Linked DNA regions of Homo sapiens: region 2 is linked to region 1. Evidence: promoter capture Hi-C in 16 types of primary human blood cells and fetal thymus (Javierre and others, 2016). All regions are on one chromosome and are shown on one strand. The core of a region is centred on a gene start or on the middle of the fragment in contact, and the rest is flanking DNA. Distances in the headings are between cores, read along the strand shown.

The links. Contacts are between HindIII fragments. The CHiCAGO score rates a contact against its expected background, and 5 or more counts as called.
Region 2: a fragment that was not itself captured here is called in contact with the fragment with the promoter of CD93 in region 1 in 5 of 17 cell types (neutrophils, monocytes, M2 macrophages and 2 more); the score reaches 28.1 in neutrophils.

What each region holds. Positions count from the first base shown.
Region 1 is chr20:23,084,004-23,088,954 of GRCh38, forward strand. CD93 (CD93 molecule) reads right to left here and starts at 2,321. Exons shown (of 2, transcript NM_012072.4): 1 at 256-2,321. The coding sequence starts at 2,189. RefSeq lists enhancers at 2,305-2,484, 4,012-4,151. The HindIII fragment of the contact is 6,182 bases long and covers 1-4,951 here.
Region 2 is chr20:23,215,955-23,220,905 of GRCh38, forward strand. No RefSeq gene overlaps it. Among named protein-coding and RNA genes, the nearest start is that of LINC03125, 70 kb to the left of the region's middle. The HindIII fragment of the contact is 8,690 bases long and covers 1-4,951 here.

The DNA.
Region 1 (4,951 bases), core at 1,071-3,570:
AGCCATGGCGCCTCTGTGCCTGCACGTCCCCACCTTGGGAGAGAGCCCCACGTGCGGCCGTGCTGCAGATGGGCAGTATGCTCTAAGGGGGCCCGAGTGCCTGGCGTGGGGGGAGGTTGAGGGGTCAGCTGCAAGGACCAGGGTGTGTCTGCCCACAGGAAACCTGGGCCTGCTCTTGCTGCCACCTCTTTGTACTGTAGTCAGTGCCCCCATGCCTGCCCATCCCCTCCCCCGGTCACTCAGGGCCCCCTTTACCTGTACTGGTTCTCCATGGCCCTGCTCTCAGCTCGCTCTGGAACCCAGGAGTAACTGTCTGCCGCATTCTGGGGCTTCTTCTCCTTCTTCTCCTCCCTCTTCGCTCTCCGCTTGCGATAGACCAGTAGCCCCAGAGCCAGGGCCAGCAGGAGTAGGATGGCCACCACGGTGCCTAGGATGTAGAATAAAAGCAGCTTTTGCCCGTCAGTGCCATCGTTGTTTTGTGTGGCCACGGAGGAGTCCCCACCTGCAGGCTCCTGGGGGCCAGAGGCAGCTGTGGCGTGATGGATGCTGGGCTCCCTCCAGACGCCTGGGGACCCACTGGGGGCCAGCATCTTGAGTGGGGCAGATGTGATGGGGGCGTCAGATGACAGCGAAGGTCTACTTGTGGTGGGTGTAGCCTTGGGGGTGCCCTCGGGGCCCCTTGTGGGACTGGCTGTTGCAGCACGGGGCACGGTGCTCCCTTCTTTCTCTCCTTTGTCCTCCTCATCGGGGGGCCCAGATGGTGGTCCCAGAGACACAGGCCCCATGGTGCAAGAGACCCCATTTGGGGCCAGCACCCAGCCTGGCAGGCAGCCACAGTGGAAGGACCCTTGTGTGTTGAAGCACAAGCTGTCGCAGAGGGGGCCCCCCGGGCCCACACACTCATCCACGTCCTGGCACTGAGTCCCGTCCTCCCCGGCCAGGACGTAGCCCTCCTCACAGGAGCAGTGAAATGAGCCATCTGTGTTGGTGCAGCCCTGGGCGCAAGGCGAGCGACCCAGAGCACACTCATCCACATCCTGACAGGCCCCCTCTCCAGGACCGCCCGGCTCATAGCCAACCCAGCATTCGCAGCGGAAGCCCCCAGGGGTGTTGACACACTCCTGGGCACAGGGGGAGTCCTGGCATTCATCCACGTCCACACAGTCCAGCTGACTCGAGTCCAGCTGGTACCCTTGGGGGCAGCGGCACGTGTAGTTTTTCCCATGGGGTCCCAGGACGCACGTGGCCCCCCCACGACATGGGCTGGAGCTGCAAGGGTTTCGAGAGGCACAGGTCACCAGGTCATCCAGCAGCCGGAATCCTGGTCGGCAGCCGCAGAGGAAGGAGCCATCCCCCCCTTCAAAGCAGTCCTGGTGGCAGCCCCCATTGTTGAAGTTGCAGCCATACTTGGGGCTGACACAGAGGGGGCCCGAGCTGCCCCAGTCGAACACATCGGGGGCCTTCTCCTTGCACAGGAAATAATGACTCTGAGTCTCGTCCTTGTCACCTTCCCCACAGGCTACATTGGCCGCAGAGGCAAAGGGCACAGCCTCCAAGGAGGAACTGGTGGTCTGGAAGGGGGTGGTGTAGGTCACCTGACCTGGGCCCCCCAGGGCCAGAGGCCGGCACATGCCTTTGAAGCTGAACTTGCACACGAAGCCCTCAATGTTACTTCCGGGGGAGCCTGGGCTCCCACAGGGGCCCTCAGACCACTTGGGGAGGCGGCTGGGAAGGAGCGGCTGGGACAGGTCCAGCAGCAGAGACACACAGCGCTTGGAGATGCACGAGTTCCGGAGCTCCTTGTGCCAGTTAGAGTAAGGCGTGTCCTCCCCCCCGCCCACCCAGCTGAAGCCCTTCAGCGGCAGACTAGGGTCCAGGCACTTGCCCTTCTCTCGCTGGAGCCCAATCCAGAACTTGCTCATCCTCGCCGTCAGGGCTGCCTCCCGCCTCAGGAGCTGGGCCAGTACTCGCTGGACGTGCTGGGCCTCCTCCTTGCTCTTCACAGTGGCCAGGTTGCCCCCGTTCTGGTTGCAGTGGTTCTGGGCCTCGGCAGCGCTCAGCTTGCCCGAGTGGGCCGTGTAGCAGGCGGTCCCCACGCAGACCACCGCCTCCGTGTCAGCTCCCGTCCCCGCCCCGGGCTGGGTCAGGAGCAGCAGCAGCAGCAGCAGCAGGCCCATGGAGGTGGCCATCCCGGTCTCTGTGTGGCCCTCTGCGGGAGGCGAGAAGCCCAGCGGCGACAGGAGCTTCTATCTCGGCTCCCAGCTGGGCCCCAAGGGGAGCTGAGGGGTGAGCTGCAGCCACTCCGGCGCAGAGAAGGACACAAAGGCTGAGGGCTTTCCACGTCCCCCTGACCCAAGGCGCATCCTGTACTGTTGTACTTCTTATTTCTCACCGGATGTTGGGGCTTCCTGCAATGAATAGTTCTCTGACTCCTGCTGCCTTCATCACGGTGCTGTTGTTCATAAAAGGAGTCAGGCAGCTCTGCCGGGTCCCTGGCTCAGCACTGTGGAAACAGCGACGGGGGGAAGACGTTACAGCCCCGAGATACTGCCGGCTTGATTTTGGCTCCATTCTCTTTCTCATGGCATGAGGAGCCTCGGAGGCATGCCATGGAGTGAGCAGGGGCTTTGGGGGCTAGGAACTCGAGGAAGCTCCCTTAGTAACCCATAATAAAATTCCACTTTGGTTTGCAAACCACCAAAAGAGAAAAAAAAAATTCTGAGACTTAAGACACAAGGCCATGGATGGTTATAATTTTCAGCCTTTTTTAGAAGCAAACTGGACTTTCCTTTTGCCTAGCTCATGTTCTCTGTTGACTTTGGGAGCCTTTTTTCTTTTATCCTCCCATCGTGAACCTTAAATAGACAGGCATTTTTTAAATAGGATACGGGTCGTGGGAATGTCTGGGTTTTCAACATAATGCCAAGCTCCTCGATAATGTTAATCCAAATTGGGTGAAATTTGGCAGTTCTGGGGGTTTCATAGTGGAAATATTGCATTGTGAGGTGTCAGGGTCACAAAAAGCATCAGAAAGAAAATGAAAATGTGTCCGGCCTCGTGGCGCAGGGCTTGCAGGCTCACTTCCCCCGGCTCAGGATTCCTAGCAAGGGCCGGAAATCTGGGCAGGGAGCGGGAATCGAAGCCCGGGCAGGCCCTCCCGCGACACCGCGACTCGGCAAAAGCCAGGGACTCACAGTGTGCTTTTCCTGCAGCCACAGACCTTTGCTCATTGGTTGGGATCCCCCAGGAGGGGACCCTGAGACAGGATTTGGGGAGACTAGTTTATGTGGGAGGGGAAGTGAAACAGACAAGGAGGAAGCCAACCCATGATGACTTGCTGAGAAGGTGACCCTGGGCTGCTGGAGCCAGTGCCAGGAAACTCTGGGGGCCTGAGGGGACCACACCTCAGCACCATCTCAGCTGAGGGAGAGGCTCCACTGCTCTCCAAGTCCCCTGTCATTGGTAGCAGGCTGTATCTCTCACTTTGAGAGACTGACTATAAATTCTAGCCCTGCCCAGTGACCAGGGGTCTCTCTCACATAAAACTTGTTTCTATGGACAGACACCCTTGTGGCTCTCGTCTGACCCATGTCCAGTTTATTCCTATCAAGACAGCCACTTCCTAAGAGATCCCTGATGGGAGGAGAGTTGGGTTGGGGTGTGGGTCAGGGGAGATGCAGGAGGCAGCACAAGAAGACACAGGAAGCAACACAAGCACCGTGTCACTTACAGATCCCAGGGAGAGGGCAGTGCACCCCACGGGGCCAGCAAAAAGTGGGGAGCTGTCTGGGTCACAAACACTCACCTGGAGGGGGGTGAAGGGAGAGAGAGAGACCTGGGTCCTAAGCCTTTATTGGGGTCCAGGACGTTTCCCAAGCAGGTTTCCCAAGGGGACTTCTCACTGGTGGGTTTAGAGCAAACAGACACGGGCTCCGTGGGGTCCCTGTGGCTGAGAGGTGGGCATGGCGGCATGTCTGGGAAGTCCCTGTGGGGTGTGGAGTCACTGAGACCATCAAATGGGCTGTATCTGCCTGTCCCACAGGGAAATGGTCACCAGGAGGTGGGTGTACAAGGCAGATATCTGGGTTGGCCGCATTGAGGAACTGGGAGGGGGTGGAGCCCTAGACACCGTGTCAAGAGCAATAAACCCTGCTTCTGGTAGGAGAGGGTCCAAATTAGATTCAAAATGGATGCAATGCACAATTATAAGAATTCTCTACACAGCGGCAACTCTTTGGTGCTCTGCACTGACCGTGAGGGCCCCAGGGGAAGAAGCGCCACGGTGGAGAACACAGTGAACGCCTGTGGACCCGGCACCAGCGACCACCACAGTGGCCTCCATGGAGATGTTGAGTTGTCCCGGGGGCTAGGAGCTCGCTGGCTCCCCAAGGGACAAGGAGGCATCTCTGACTCCAGCTGGATACCTCCTAAGAATGTGCCTTAAGTCCTTGCATTTTAGCAAAGATATTTGAGACATTTTGGGAACTCTCCATAGAAGCCACCAGACCCTCCCTGTGCCCCTTCATTCATCCATCTGTTTGTCCATCCACCCATCTAACAATTGTTGATTAAGACCCTGCTATGCACTGAGTGAGGCACTGGATTCCAGGAGGGGATCCCTGCCTCTGTGATCCTGGAGTCCTGTTAGAGTGGACAACTTTGAACAAGTCACGGCACTGATGGCTTTATTGCAGGCAGCACAGGGGAGCGGGGAGGTCGTGGTTGATACAGGGGTGGCATCCTGACTGGGGGATGGGCAATTAGGAGAGACTCCTCTGGAGAAGACAGGCAGTCAAGCCGGAATCTAAAGGAGAAGCAGCTCAGATGTGGAATGGTGTCGGGATGGGGGAACAGCATGTACAGAAGCCCTGGGGACAGAGAGTGAGTGAAGGGCAGGGAGACCAAAGCCCAGGCAGTGGGAGGGAGGATGCAGGGGAAGATGGAGCCCTGT
Region 2 (4,951 bases), core at 1,245-3,744, 130 kb after region 1:
CTTTCTTCGTGACATCAAAGAGGCGTCCACCCAGGTCTAGGACAGGGGTCTCAGAACCCAGCCTCCTCCTGGGCTCTCCTCACAACACACTGCTCCAAAAGTTTGGTTGGAGGGGGATGCTGGTATATTTTAAATCGTGTCCTCTTAAATAGCCAGCACCCTGACACAGTGGGAGGGAATGACAGGATCTTTTTACTAGAGAAAATTTCAAATACAGTTGGCCCTTTGTGCAGGGGTTGGGGGTAATTAATTCCAGGACCCCCAAGGATACCAAAATTCTCGGAAGCTCAGGTCCCTGATATAAATTGACATCATATTTGCACATAACCTATGCACATCTTCTCGTACACTTTAAATAATCTCTCGGTTACTCCTTTTTTTTGGCATAACTGTTCATGTATTCCTTTACCCTAGATACACTGTTCTTACCTTTTTGCTCCTATTGTTTAATAAAAAATGAAGTCAGTAAGTTCAGAGGACACAAATAGATAGCACATGATCATGTCTCTACAAATATAGTTACTCCCTTGCTCAAAGTGTGGTCCACAAACTGGCAGCATCAGCATCAGCATCAGCAGGGAGCTACAGAAAGGCAGAAGCTCAGGTCCCACCTGAAAATATGGAATCCAAGTTTGCACTTTAATGAGCACCCAGGGGATCCATCTGTGCATGAGCATTTGAGAAGCATGATCCAGGACCGAGTCCTTGCCCTTCCTTCCATGTTCAAATGCATCATCACCTAAATCATACACCAAAGTTTCACCATTACAATGTGCCATAGGATGGACAACAATTCAAAACAAATTTTTTCACCTGCTTTTCTGATTTTTGAAAGATAACCCTTGTCCATTCACCTATTGGAATGAAGGAAATTGTAGTAGTATGATTGATCACCTATGGGAAGTTGGGAAGAGCAATGGGATCAGTGCATGGACTTACCAACTGTAAGAACTTTTAACACATGACTTAACTTCTCTAACTCTCAATTTCTTAATCTGAAACCTACCTCAGAATATTATTGCGAAAACCAAATGAAGAAATGTATGTGAAAGTGATTTTATAATTAGTTTTGGGGTTTACTACATTATCATGGTTTTCTTAAATTTTTTAATTATTTCAATATTTTTGGGGGAACAGGTGGTGTTTGGTTACATGGACAAGTTCTTTAGTGATGATTTCTGAGATCTTGGTGCACCCATCACCTAAGCAGTGTACACTGTACATATTGTGTAGTCTTTTATCTCTCACTCCCCTCCTACACTTCCTCTCAAGTCCCCAGAGTCATTCTTGTGCCTTTGCGTCCTTATCGCTTAGTTCTCACTTATGAGTGAGAACAGAGGATGTTTGGTTTTCCATTCCTGAGTTACTTTACTTAGAATAATGGTCTCCAACTCCATCCAGGTTGATATTAATGCCATTATTTTGTTCCTTTTTATGGCTTAGTAGTATTCCATGGTGTGTGTGTATATATAGATATAGGTATAGATAAAGATATAGATATATAGATATAGATATATAGATATAGATATAGATATAGATATAGATATAGATATAGATATAGATATATCCCACATTTTCTTTATCCACTTGTTGGTTGATGGGCATTCAGGTTGGCTCCATATTTTTGCAATTGCAAATTGTGCTGCTATAAACATGCATGTGCAAGTATCTTTTACATATAATGACTTATTTTCCTCAGGGTAGATACCCAGTAGTGGAATTACTAGATCGAATGGTACTTCCACTCTTAGTTCTTTAAGGATTCTCCATACTGTTTTCCATAGCGGTCGTACCGATTTACATTCCCACCAGCAGTTCCCTTTTCACCACATCCACACCAACATCTATTATTTTTTGATTTTTTGATTATGGCCATTCTTGCAGGAGTAAGGTGGTATCACATTGTAATTTTGATTTGCATTTCCATGATAAAAGTGATGTTTAGCATTATTTCACATGTTTGTTGCCATTTGTATAACTTCTTTTGAGAGTAGTCTATTCTGTTCTTAGCCCACTTTTTGGTGGGATTATTTGTTTTCTTCTTGCTGAATTTTTTAAGTTCTTTGTAGATTCCAGATATTAGTCCTTTGTTGGATGCGTAGTTTGGGAATATTTTCTCCCACTCTGTGGATTGTCTATTTACTCTGCTGATTATTTATTTTGCTGTGTAGAAGTTTTTTAGTTTAATTAATTTCCATCTATTTCTCTTTGTTTTTGTTGCATTTGCTTTTGGGTTCCTGGTCTTTGCCTAAGCCAATAGATGAATTTTTCTGATGTTATCTTCTAGAATTTTTATGGTTTCAGGACTTAGTTTTAAGTTTTTGATCCATCTTGATTTGATTTTTGTGTAAGATGAGAGATAAGAATCCAGTTTCATTCTTCTACATGTGGCTTGCTAATTATCCCACAAACATTTGTTGAATAGGGTGTCCTTTCCCCACTTGATGTTTTTGTTTGCTTTGTCAAAGATCAGTTGACTGTAAGTACTGGGCTTTATTTCTGGGTTCTCTATTCTGTTCTATTGGTCTACATGCTTGTTTTCATACCAGTACCATGCTGCTTTGATAACTATAGCCTTGTAGTATAGTCTGAAGTCAAGTAATGTGATACCTCCAGATTTGTTCTTTTTGCTTAGTCTTGCTTTGGCTATGTGGGCTCTTTTTTGTTTCCATATGAATATTAGGATTTTTTTCTAGTTCTGTGAAGAATTATGATAGTATTTTGATGGGAATTGCATTAAATTTATACATTGCTTTTGGCAGTATGGTCATTTTCACAATGTTGATTCTACCTGTCCATGAGCATGGGATGTGTTTCCATTTGTTTGTGTCATCAATGATTTCTTTCAGTGGCGTTTTGTAGTTCCCTTGTAGAGATCGTTTACCTCTTTGATTAGATATTTTCCTAACTATTTTATTTTTTGCAGCATTGTAAAATGGGTTGTGTTCTTGATTTGATTCTCAGCTTGGTCACTGTTGGTGTATAGCAGTGCTACTAATTTGTGTACCTTGATTTTGTATCCTGAAACTTTACTGACTTTATTTATCAGATCTAGCAGCTTTTTGGATGAGTCTTTAGGGTTTTCTAGGTAAACAATCATGTCATCAGCAAACAGTGATGGGAATTGCATTGAATTTATAGATTGACAGTTTGACTTCCTCTTTGTCCATTTGAATGCCCTTTATTTCTTTCTCTTGTCTGATTACTCTGGCTAGAACTTCCAGTGCTATGTTGAATACAAGTGGTAAAAGTGGGCATCCTTGTCTTGTTCCAGTTCTCAGGGGAATGCTTTCAACTTTTTCCCATTCAGTTTAATGTTGGCTGTGGGTTTGTCACAGATGGCTGTTATAACTTTAAGGTATGTCGTTTCTATGCCGATTTTGCTGAGGGCTTTAACCATAAAGGAATGCTGAATTTTGTCAAATGCTTTTTCTGCATCTATTGAGATGATCATGTGGTTTTTAATTGTGTTTATGTGGTGCATTACATTGATTGACTTGTGTATGTGAAGCCAGTCCTGCATCCCTGGTATGAAACCCACTTGATCATACTGTATTATCTTTTTGATATACTGTTGGATTTGTTTCACTAGTAGTTTGTTGAGGATTTTCGCATCTATGTTAATCAGGGATATTGGTCTGTAGTTTTCTTTTTTTTAAAATTATGTCTTTTCCTGGTTTTGGTATTAGGGTAATTCTGGCTTCATATAATAATTTAGGAAGCATTCCCTCTTTCTCTATCTTTTGGAATAGTTTCAGTAGGATTGATACCAACTCTTCTTTGAATGTCTGATAGAATTCAGCTATGAATTCATCTGGTCCTGGGCTTTTTTTGTTGGCAATGTTTTTATTACTGTTTCAATTTCACTACTTGTTATTGATCTGTTCAGAATTTCTATTTCTTACTGTTTTAATCTAGATGGGTTGTATATTTCCAAGAACTTATCCATCTCCTCTAGGTTTTCTAGTTTGTGCGCATAAAGGTGTTCATAGTAGCCTTGAATTATCTTTTGTATTTCTGTGGTATCAGTTGTAATAGCTCCCATTTTGTTTCTAATTGAGATTATTTGGATCTTCTCTCTTTTCTTGGTTAATCTTGCTAATGGTCTATCAATTTTATCTTTTCAAAGAACCAGCTTTTTGTTTCACTTATATTTTGTATTTTGTTTGTTCCAATTTTATTTAGTTTTGCTCTGATCTTTGTTATTTATTTTCTTCTGCTGGGTTTGGGTTTGGTTTATTCTTGTTTCTGTAGTTCCTTGAGGTGTGAGCTTAGATTGTCTATTTGTGTTCTTTCAGAATTTTTGATGTAGGCATTTAATGCTATGAACTCTCCTTTAAGCACCAATTTTGCTGTATTACTATTTTCATTCAGTTTGAAAATTTTTTTAATTTCCATCTTGATTTTATTGTTGACTCAAAGATCATTCAGGAGCATATTATTTAGTTTCCATGTATTTGTATAGTTTTGAGTGTTCCTTTTGGAGTTAATTTCGAATTTTATTTCACTTTCTCTCAGGTCTGAGAGAGTACTTGATATAATTTTGATTTTCTTAAATTTATTGTGACTTGTTTTGTGGCCTAGCATATGATCTTGGAGAATGTCCCATGAGCTGATGAAAAGAATGTATATTCTACAGTTGTTGGGTAGAATGTTTTGTAAATATCTGTTAAATCCATTTGTTCTAGGGTATAGTTTAAGTTCATTGTTTCTTTGTTGACTTTGTCTTGATGACCTGTCTAGTGCTGTCAGTGGAGTATTGAAGTCCCCCCCACCCACATTGTTGTGTTGCCATCTATCTCATTTCTAAGGTCTACTAGTAAATGTTTTATAAATTTGAGAGCTCCAGTGTTAGGTGCATATATATTTAGGATTGTGATATTTTCCTGTTGGACTAATCGTTGTGTCATTACATAATATCCCTCTTTGTCTTTTTTCATTGTTGTTGCTT